Regions from separate parts of the Homo sapiens genome. Here regions 2 and 3 are each linked to region 1. Evidence: promoter capture Hi-C in human tissues and cell types (Jung and others, 2019). All regions are on one chromosome and are shown on one strand. The core of a region is centred on a gene start or on the middle of the fragment in contact, and the rest is flanking DNA. Distances in the headings are between cores, read along the strand shown. Region 1 holds the start of RPL10L (ribosomal protein L10 like). Region 2 has its middle 96 kb from the start of RPL10L. Region 3 has its middle 68 kb from the start of RPL10L.

The links. Contacts are between HindIII fragments. The study calls those that stand out against the background at their distance.
Region 2: a contact is called between a fragment that was not itself captured here and the fragment with the promoter of RPL10L in region 1, in 3 of the 25 tissues and cell types used here (adrenal gland, small bowel and spleen).
Region 3: a contact is called between a fragment that was not itself captured here and the fragment with the promoter of RPL10L in region 1, in 2 of the 25 tissues and cell types used here (dorsolateral prefrontal cortex and liver).

The regions. Positions count from the first base shown.
Region 1 is chr14:46,650,010-46,653,835 of GRCh38, forward strand. It overlaps RPL10L (ribosomal protein L10 like), which reads right to left and starts at 1,772. Exons shown (of 1, transcript NM_080746.3): 1 at 1,001-1,772. The coding sequence starts at 1,727. The coding sequence ends at 1,083. All of the region lies in intron 3 of LOC105370481 (a long non-coding RNA gene), which reads right to left. The HindIII fragment of the contact is 6,030 bases long and covers 1-3,665 here.
Region 2 is chr14:46,745,897-46,749,722 of GRCh38, forward strand. No RefSeq gene overlaps it. Among named protein-coding and RNA genes, the nearest start is that of RPL10L, 96 kb to the left of the region's middle. RefSeq lists a silencer at 1-141. The HindIII fragment of the contact is 3,035 bases long and covers 338-3,372 here.
Region 3 is chr14:46,717,611-46,721,436 of GRCh38, forward strand. No RefSeq gene overlaps it. Among named protein-coding and RNA genes, the nearest start is that of RPL10L, 68 kb to the left of the region's middle. The HindIII fragment of the contact is 9,502 bases long and covers 1-3,826 here.

The sequences.
Region 1 (3,826 bases), core at 522-3,021:
TATAGCAAGGGCCTAAAATAAATATCCAGCCAGATACAATATGTTAAGACTGACATAGCATTTCTTTAAATAAATGAAAATTAAATAGTAGTGTTTCTTACTATTTCTTTTGTTGTTTTCATTAAATGTGTTGACTTTGAAAAAGAACCGTTAGTCTAAAAACACTGAAGGCACTGTTAGCAGGATTGAGATTCAAAAGGCTAAGTCAATTGTAAAGAACAAGAATTTTTTTTAATGCAGTACAAACTCAGGAATTTTAGCTTATGTAGTTTCAAAAATAAAACAAAAAGCACCTGTGTCATCAACGTAACTCTAATTCAGGGCAAGCACCTACAATTGCAAACTCTCTTTAGGGTCCTTTTATAGCACAGATAACCGATTTAGTGTCATTTTCTCTCTTCTTTTGGTTCTACTGGAGCCCAGATACAAGTAATATGAACTCTGTTGTCACCTATGACCTTTCTATGATGAAAAAAAGATTAGACTGTTATCTCTTGACTGTGAGACAATGTAAAGTTCGTCTGGAAAAGCCTTTCAGAGTGATACTCAATTGTCCTAAGGCTGATAATCAGACGTGTAAGGTAATTCTAAAAACAATGTACAGAAATTTATAGAAAAACATAAGGCAACCAAGTTTAGAAATAAATTACTTCCAAAGAGGCTGTGGGTGAAATATCACTAATGCCTACTATTATTTTCATCGCTACTGTTTAGTTTATATTCTATAAACAAATTTTTTCACTCAAATCTATTTTTTATTCAAGGAATGATAGCTGCATAACTTATGACTTTACTACAAACAAAACTTTCAACATATTGCTCTATACTCTCCTAAATTTAAAGTGTTTGCTTAAAACAGCTTTCTCTATAAATTGTATAGTTTTACTGAAGCAAGGAAGGTAACATTTGCCATTAAAACTGAATAAATAGAAAAAAATTCTCTAGTAGTCTATATTCTAAAACATTGGATATTTAAAAAATATTAAAACTTAATAAGGAGTTATTTTTTGCCAGTAAACAGAATTTATTAGTAAGCATAAGTCAGACCAGCATGGCCCAAGGAGACAGTACTGCCAAAACCTTCATGAGTGCAGAACCCGCCACTTGTCCAAGGGGCCATGACTGGGAACGTACTTGACTCCACAACCATCAGGGATGAGGCACTTCTTGGCCACCATGTCTTCAAATTCGTCAGCATTAAACTTCGTGAAGCCCCACTTCTTGGAGATATGAATCTTCTGGCGTCCAGGGAACTTGAACTTGGCCCTGCGCAAGGCTTCAATCACATGCTCCTCGTTCTGAAGCTTGGTGCGGATGGACATGATGACTTGACCAATGTGGACCCGGGCTACAGTACCCTGGGGTTTTCCAAAGGCACCTCGCATACCTGTCTGGAGCCTGTCAGCCCCAGCACAGGACAACATCTTGTTGATGCGGATGACATGGAAGGGATGGAGCCGCACTCGCATGTGAAAGCCATCTCTGCCACAACTTTTCACCATGTATTTGTTGGCACAAATACGGGCGGCCTCCAGGGCTTCAGAAGACAGCTGCTCATATTCATCAGACACCATGTGGCCACCGAGTGGGAACTCATCCACTTTTGCCTTCTTTCTACCCAGGTCAAAGATGCGGATCTTGGCATCAGGAACCCCTCGGCAGAAACGAGATTTTGGGTACGGCTTGTTCTTACAATACCGGTAACAGCGAGCTGGACGGCGCCCCATGGCGACACAGTAACGTCGGCGGTGCCTCGAAGTCAAAATGCGCTCTCTTAACTACGCCTGCGCGCATTTATATACGTTGCCCCTCGTCCCTCGCGGGAACCATAGAGTCCTGAGGCCGGAACCATAGAGTCCTGAGGAGGATGTGACGACTCTCTTTCAGGACGTCCCAACCAGAGACGCAGGGACGTCTGGCGCCTCAGCGCCTGCGCCAAGTGGCGCGCTTAAGGTGAGCAGAGTCAGCTGTGGGTAGACTCCCCCTGGCGGCCAGGGAAGGAATTGGGCCCCGCCCCAACTGCACAGCTGCTGCTTCCTTTCTGCTAGCCATCTTGGGCTAGGAACTCTTGCTTTCAGCTTTGCTTTAAGTATAAAAGAGGTTATTTCCAGGCAGGAGAATCTCTTGAGCTCAGGAGTTCGAGGCCAGCCTGGGCAATATAGTGAAATGCTGTCTCTACAAAAAAAAAAATATATATATATCAAATAGCTGGGCATGGTGGCACATGCTTGTAGTCCCAGCTACTCAGGAGGCTGAGGTGGGAGGATCGCCTGGGCCCTGCAGGCAGAAACTGCAGTGAGCTGAGATAGCACCACTGCACTCCAGCTTGAGTGACAGAGGGAGACCCTGTCTAAAGAAAAAGAAAAAAAGAAATCCTAGAATTTGAGAGGAAAAATCCTTCCAGTTATTCAACATGCTGTTTCCAGTTTGGTCAGTTCATTTTCCAGAGCTTGTATCTCACTGTCAGCATTTGTAGATCAATTGCTGTTTCTTGGGTTATGTGGCCACCTTCCCTGGATAAAGTGGTTTCTTGGCATGAGTGCTTTGATGAGACTCAGGAAGAGATGAGAGGAAGAGAAGAGAGAGGGATAAAGAGAAGATATCTGTTGTATCTGTAGCTTGGCAATTGTTTTATAAACATGAAACTTTGTTTTTTCTTTATTTGGCCTAAAGAAATGATTTTATTATCAAAATGATATATACAAAATTGAAACACCAACTAGATTTTTTTTAACTTAAGGCTATTTGCATTTTCAAATGTTAAAGCTGCTGAAACTATATAAAAGAGTAACAGTTTGTGTTTTAGTAATCTTTTGCCCCTGAGAATAAATTTAAACTTTTTTTCTTCTCAGAGTTTGTAAAAATATTATGACAGGGATCAGAGTGTAGGAAAGGAGGAAGAAGAGAGAGGAAAAGAAATTAATAGTTTACAAACCCTACTTGCATTTTTCTAGTTTTCTTTTTTGTTTTAATGTTGTTTCACAAATCCATTACATCATGGAACAAAATCCCCCCAATGTGAATATATTCTGTCAATACTCTTTGTTTTAAGGGAGAAAAATAACTCCTGCCCTTAAAGTGAGTGGATTTTTACAAAATACTAAAGATAAAACAATTAAATCTCCCAATGTAGAAAACTTTCTGACCTTTAAGAAAGCTTTCTCACTTCCCTTTTCTTCCTTCATTTCTTCTTTCCCCTTTTTCTCAACTAGTTCCTGTTTAACATATTGAGATAAAGTAGCTAATACCATGTTGCTCTCACCAAGCTTACAAGCCTAGGAGAGGATATAGATACTTCTCATATATCATCATATTACCAAGTGTAAAATGTGCCAAAAAGGAAAAGCAAAGTAAGCCCTGAGACTGTGGGATGAGGCTGGGGATGAGACCTTGATCCAGACTGAGGAATAGACAGGAAAATCTTTATCAGAAAAGAAATTTCATGTAGTGACCATGGCACATGGGGTCTGATGTATAAAAGGCCTGAAGCAGGCAGAAATATGGAACATTTTAAGGAACTTAAAGTCAGGCCAATGTGACTGTGAGTGAGAAAATGAGTCACATAACATGAGCCCAGAGTGTGTGTATGTGTGAGAGAGAAGGGGTCATGCTTTCATACAGGGCCCATTTTACCAAGTTAGGGATCCTGATCTTTAATGTGAGGCCATTAAAGAGCTTTACTTAGGTTTCATCACTCTGGTTATGGTATGGTGAATAGACTGAAACCAGCCCAAAAAAGGTATGCAAGGAGATCAGAAAGGAAGACTTCGCAATACTGCAGAAAACACACTATAACTTGAACATACTTTAAAATATTTGACTTTAT
Region 2 (3,826 bases), core at 605-3,104, 96 kb after region 1:
ACAAGTGACAAAAAGGAGCACCATCCTTACAGTAACACAGTAGGGTGGGGGAAACCCAGTACTTGAGAGGGCATCAGAGGAAGTAACGTCTTCAGATTAATAAACAGTGTTTTTTTTTCCCATTTGTTTAGATGTCCTTTAATATCTCAGCAAAGTTTTGTACTTTACAGAGTATAGATCTTGCACATTTTTTGCCAGACTTATCTCTAAGTATTTCAAACTTTTTAAATCTATTGCAAATGATAGTGTTTATTTAATTTAAATTTTTGATAATTGACTGCTTGTAGATTTTAAAGTGCGATTAAAAACACAAACATTTATTATCTTACAAATTTCTGAGGGCTAAGAATCCGGACGCAGTTTAGCTGTGTGATTTTCATTCAGAATGTTTCATGAGTTTGCTGTCAAAATGTTGACCAAACTCACATACTCTCAAGGCTTGACTGGGGCAGGAGAATATACATTCAAGCTCATTCAGCTCCTTTCAAGCACTGGAAAAAAAGCCTTAGTTCCTTGCCACTGGGGCCTCTCCATAGAGCAGCTCATAATATGGGGGGACTCTGTTGGCTCTCAGAGACCCTGGAGACATTTCCTGGTCTCCTGAGCTCTGTCTCTGGAAGAGGGTGAAGTTTAAGATGACAGATCTCGGGATGAATCCCAGAGGTCTGTGCCATGAATATTGAGTACGAGCACATGGTTCAGAGTGCCTACACCACCCTCTGATCATTTGTAAGTCTCTTTTCTCTCTGTTTTATTTTGGATACTTTTATTGTTATGTCTTCAATTTCACTAATCTTTTCTTCTGCAAGGTTAATATGTTGTTGATTCCATCCAAAGTATTTTTCCTATTGGATGTTGCAGGTTTTTTATCTCTAAAGTTTGACTTGAGTCATTTTTATATTTTTTGTGTCTCAGCTAACTTATTCAAATAGCTTATTGAGCATGGAATACAACTATAAAGCTGATTCACTGTCCTTGTTTACTGATTCTGTCGTCTGGGTCATTACTGGGTCAGCTTCAACTTATTGAGTTTTTCTCCTCATTCTGGGCCATATTTTACTACTTCCTTCATGCATGATAATATTTTTATTGGACGTCAGACATTGTGGGTTTTATCTTGGTGGGTGCTGAAGAAACCTCCACTTTAGAACGTTTCACAAAGGCAATAGTGATACTGTCACACAATAAGTGGTGAAATCTGTATTTGAATTATCAAGTCTGCATCCAGAACTTGTGACCTATAACATTCCTTGCCATGTCTGTTTTTCCTTCTTGTATCTACTTGGCCTTTGGACCTGGCTATTAACAGCCATTACTGGCCTGTTCCTTTCTGCGCGCCAGAGTCTCTGTGTCATTAAATAATGACTCTCTCTGAAACTAGAACACTGACATTCCTTTTATTTGAAATAACCTCAGATTCTAAACCTTGCACTTGTCTAGATCTTTTAAAAATGTATACACTTCCCTGGATTTGTCACTCCTTCAGAATGCCTTGCATGTCAAGTACAATGATGTTAAGTAGAACATATGCTCAGCATGGACAAAAGCAGCTTTTGTTTTGGAAGCATTAATCTGAAGCTTGAAAAAAGAAAGAAATTCTGTAAGGATGTGACAAAGTGTAGGCACATAACATTTTGGCACCAAGAACATTTGGATGTAGTTGCTTTGAACTGGAGCTTTTTTGTCTCTGCCTTGGAAAAAAAGGAATAGATGAAAATTAAACATGCTAACGGTCAGATACACGAAACAATGGGGGTGTGCATGGGTTGAGCGGTAGAGGATTTTAGGGAAATATAATTTAAAAACAAAATCTTCTCAAAATCTGCCCCCCAACAAAAGGAAACCTTGATATGGTTTGAATATTTGTCCCCTCAAAATCTCATATTGAAATGTGATCCTCAGTATTGGAGGTGAGGCCTGGTGGGAGGTGTTTGAGTCATGGGGGTAGATCCCTCATTGATGGCTTAGCACCATCCTTTTGGTGATAAATGAGTTCTTGCTCTATTGCTTCACACAAGAGCTGGTAGTTAAAAAACAGCATGGCCTCTCCTCTCTCTCTTGCTCCCTCTCTTGTCATGTGAGATGCCTGCTCCTCCTTTACCTTCTGCCATGTGTCAAAGCTTTGTGAAGCCTCACCAGAAACCAAGCAGATGCTGGTGCCATGCTTGTACAGCCTGTAGAAACATAAGCCAAATAAACCTCTTTTCTTTATAAATTACCCAGTCTCAAGTGTTCCTTTATAACAATGCAAAACAAACTAACACACCTCTCCAAAAAGCTAACAGAGACAGAAAATAGTTTTATTATTAAATAAGCATTAAATCAGAATTTCATATACATCACAGGCAATCCACCAAGAAATTGTGAAGACAGAAAGAAATCTTACCCTTTTACATAGCTGAGCAGGTACAACCCATTTTGTACATGTTCTCAAGATTAACAGTAACTAATCCTCAAGTAAGAGGACTTGACACTTTTGTTACACACAATATATCCTAAATTCACTTGGTAGTTGGGGTAACTATGTGTGTTAGCTAGTTGTCTCTCACCAAAGGAAAAATTAACTTCTTACATTTTTATTACAAGAGATAGTTCTGCAACTTGGAACAAGATCCTAAGTTAGATCCCACCCTCCCACAAAAATGGAGAGAGAAGGATGCTATCTTCTTTGATGTTTTACATGTCAAAGAAACTCAGGTTTTGAGAAAGACTTCCCTGGTTTATAAAGTTGACAAAAGTCCTACATAGTTTTCAAAAAGATTTATATAAGTGTCAAAGAGAGGAGAAAATACTTATAATTGTAAGTTTCCTAAAGTGAATGGTGTAAGAAAAAGGGTGGGAGGGGAAATCTTTCCTCGTTTTCAACTGAGAGAATTTAGTTTTTTAAAAAAAGGTTTTTATTTTTCCTTAGAAGTGCAAACTTAAATCTCATTCTCAAAGTGTGAGCTCCACACCAGCAACATCAGGATGACTTTGATATTTTGTTAGAAATGCAGAATTTCAGTCCTCACTTCATGCCTACTGAATAAGAAACTGCATTTTTAAAAACATCCCTCATTAATTCCAATGCCCATTAATCTTTAAAAATCACAGTTTTACAGGAGTAAAAAGAGGAGTTCCAGATCTTCATCCATACTTTATTTTGGCCACAGATGGTTTCAGGTTTCAAATAGCTAGCATATCAGGTTATTATTAATTAATTAATGACCCCAGGTGCTGAAGCCAACATATGAAAACTCAAATCCCAGATAAGTGCACCGGAGTCAATGACTTCAGCCTGAACGACTCTATATCTCATCACATTTGGTCTAACACCTTCACAATCCACTCCCACACATGCTTCCAAGGTTTCTATATAAATAGATTGGCAAGATTTTCTAACTCTGTTGGAGTATGAGTTATTTCCTTCTTAAGTAGATTTTGAATCTTACTATGCTATCTATGTTTATTCTTATATTATGAGACAGAAGACAACTTCCAATGGTGAGTTTAAGTCTCTTTATATGGCAAATGACATAGGTGCAGTAATTTAAAGGTTTATACAGGGCAAGGCTGGTGTTCTCAAAAGGGTGAGTGTGGATAGCACTGTTTCTACTAGCAAAAGAGCTTCATGGTATTTGAGAATGCATAACTTTTAGCCTCATTCATATTGTCTAGGGTGTCCCCAGTCAGACATGTAACATTAAGACTCCACTCCTTCCCCTCTAGCTCTCTTACCTTAGCTTAAGGTCCTGGTATGGTTGAGCATTTAATTAGTGTTACAACAGCAATTCTTAACAACGAAAACATAGGTATGATCTTCAGTCATATGTGCCCTACTGTGATA
Region 3 (3,826 bases), core at 691-3,190, 68 kb after region 1:
CGAGAGAGGGGTTAATCGGAGGAGGTACCAGGATCCTTTAAACAACCAGCCTTCTCATTAACAACCAGAGCAAGAACTCACTCATTACCATGGGGATGGCAGGAGGTCATTCATGAGGGATCTGCCCGCATGACCCAAACAACTCCCACTTGGCCCACTTCAAACACTGGAGGTCACATTTCACCATGAGAGCGGCACATCCAAATTCTATCATCGGCCTAGCAGAATATCAGAATTGATAGAGACCAGGGACTACTTTGGGTTTCTCTTTGTCCTTTCTGAGTAGGAGTGTTTATTGCAATTTTCCTATTCCTGTTCCACTATTTAATATTGTGTGTCAGGGGAAAGAGATAATTTATCTCCTACTTAATAAGTCATTAGACCTTACAGAAGTACATCTTGACTGCATGACCTCTTACGAAGAATGGCATGTCATATTTTGGAATTTTTCTCAATGCTCTGACTAGATGGGGCTTCGTATTGTTTTACTTGGGAAAGAAGTGAGTTTTGTGTGAGTACGTGTGGGAGGAGAAATGAATAGGTAATTGGTGACCATAAGGGCAGACTGTGATAGAGAATAGCTTGTTGTTCACCAAACAGGGTTCTTCTTCCTTCTGGGCACAGAGCCATAATCTTTTTCCTATCTTCTCTTGGGGTTCAATGTAGCCCGTATATTAAACTGTGAAGAAAGAAGGTGGGTGTAATTTATAAACGTCATCTCTCCAACCCCTGGGAGAATGGAGAAGACTGTGAAGGTGTAGAGAAAGGCTGTGGTGTTAAATCTTTCAAATGTCACAGCTAACAAATGATAGCACTTCATGTTACTTTAATACATATAAGCACATACACATCCTTTATATTCACATGCAAATAAATGTAGGAAATAGGGGCAAATATCATGGTAATTCAAGTGCTTATCTCTGATATCAGATATTTCTGGACAGAATGCAACTTAATCAGGGACAATTAAGGAAGTTGTAAATCTAATATTAATGACTATCTTTTAAGTGAGCTATATGCTGATCACTAGTTTATTCATTTATTCAACAATAATTAATGAAGACTTACTGCTTTTGCTGTGCTAGCCACTGCAAATGGAGAGGTGAACAACACAGACAAAAGTCCTGCTCTTATGTGGTCCATGTGTTATGTAGGCATCATGATAAAATGAGGTAGGTGCGATAGCCAGAGGCTAAAGAATTTGCTGAAACTCACACAACTTACAAATGGTTAAACCCATACCCCTTTGGCTTTAAAGCTTTTAGTAATTTCATATATTTGAACATTTCAAATTAAAGTAAGTGTTGGATTGTACTTGCCTAAAAATTGCCTCATGTATTTTTTGGATGTAATTATGTGGTCCATTGCATAGCTCCAGTCTTTAACATTACTACACTGTAATGTTTGATACAAATCTTTCCTGTGAGAACTTGATACATTTAAGTCACAGAGTATATCTCAGGCTATAATAATCTTCTAAGAATGTGATTTTACTTATGTATCATCAACACAATTTCATATATTACATCTAAGTGGTTTTGAATTATCCAGATAATTCTTTCATTTTTTCCTTCCTGCTTAACATATGGTCAAGTTGGGAACCAATTGCTAAGTTAAAGCGGGAGCAGGCATAAACATAAACATATGAAAATCACTGGTAAATCTTTGCCATTCACTGTATATAGATTATCTACTTTGAAATTAATTTCACATATCACTATAAAATCTTGTGTGAATATTTTCTCATACAGTAAGGAAATGGTTGAATATAACATGTAGCAAAATGTGAACTATAAATTAGAAAATAAAATCTTGATCGATTTTCCAGTGTAATCTAATTGCGAATATGAGCAAATTAAAGGAATTTTATAGACTTTGGCTCCATAATAGACTGTTAGTGAATGGAGCTTCCTCTTGACTTTCAGTTCCTTGTGTAAAGCTATTAGATTTCATATCTCGTCTCAGATTTGACAAATGGTGCACTGAATGAAGCACTCAGACTACAAATGAGAAGTTATTACTCCAGGAGGAATTTGATGAGCTTAAAGAAAATTCACACGTCCCTTTTTGTCTGTATATCCAGAGAAACTAATTAGTGAAAAGGTTTCCGGAATTACAATAATCTGTTAATGTAGTTATTTTAAATATAAAACCTTGGTGATTTTAGTTTCGGTTTGTTTGCAATTATTTTTCAATTAACACATAAGAATGATGAACTCTAGAGTTTCACCATTGCTCATATTTTGCTTATTCACTACTGCAAAATGAAAATATTTTGGATAAAATGTTCTTAAAAAATAAAGCAAAGAAAATGCTGCCTAAAAACATTTATATAATTTCTGATATTTTAAAATCTTGGTTTCTGTTTAATTGTTACATAAGCAAAATTATATAACAAATAACATGTGTATAGTATAGGACACCTTGATTATTGTGTGTTTTATTAATCCATGGAAGAAATACTTTTTAAAGGTATTATTTTGGAACAATATTCAATGAAATATGTTTAAAGTTAATTATCGTTCCATTCTGTATTGGTTTTCTCTTGCTCTTGTAAAAAATTATCACAAATTTAATGGCTTAAAACAACACAGATTTCTTATTTAACAGTTCTGAATGTCAGCTGTTTAAAATGGGTCACAGGGATGCTTTCCTTCTGGAATGGGAAAATCTGTTTCCTTGCCTTTTCCAGCTATTAGAGGCTGCCAGCATTCCTTGGTTCATGGCCCTGAATAAGTCTGGCCTTTGCTTCCATTGTCACATTTCCTTTTCTCTTTCATGATTACACTGTCCCTACCCAGATAATCCAGAATAATCCCCCCATCTCAAGATGCTTAAGTTAATTGCATTTGTGAAGTCCCTTTTGCAATGTAAAGCAACATGTTCATGGGTTTCAGGATCAGGACATGCACATATCTGAGTGACACTGCACAGCCTACGACACCTTTGATTTGTGATATTCATTGACCACTAATTTATTTATATGCACTTACATTGTAGGTGACACAAAATTGAAAAGGAACTGGATTTTATATTAAGAAGTTTATGGAAGAGAAAAGAGAGACAGTGAAGACACTGATAAATATTACTATGGGTTCAGGAAATATGTTATGGAAACTCAAAAGAGGAATTACCTTGTACTTTTCAGTTCACAACCAGAGTATTTACACCTTATCTCTCGGAATCATATTAAGGTATAGAGTGCAGCATGTTCAGATAAAAGAAAGAATTGTTATAGAAATAGAAAAAAGTCAAGGAAGGCAAAATGAAAAGAACTAGGAATATTTAACTCAGAAAATAGGCTATGAAAATGAGTGGATGAAGAAAATATTTGATACGTGTATGAATATTATTTAGCCTTAAAAAAATGAAATCCTGCCATTTGCAACAACACAGATGAACTTGAAGGACGTTATACTAAATGAACTCAGCCAGACACAGAAAGACAAATACTGCATGATCTGTCTTACTGACATGTGGAATCTAAAATAGTCAAACCCATAGAACAGAGAGTAGAATGGTGGTTGCCAGGGTTTGGGGGTATGGAAGGAAATTAGGAGATGTTGATCAAAGGACATAAAGTTTCATTTATGCAAGATTAATCAATTCTGAAGTTCTAATGTGTAGCATAGCATAGTGACTATAGTTAGTAATACTGTATTGTGTACTTGAAATTTGCTAATAGGGTCAATCTTAAGTGTAAGCGTTCTCACCAAAATAATTTTTCTAAAGCTAACTATGAAAGTGATGGAAATTTAACTAGCTTGATTGTGGTGATCATTTCACAATGTATGCATATATCAAAGCATCAAGCTGTATACCTTAA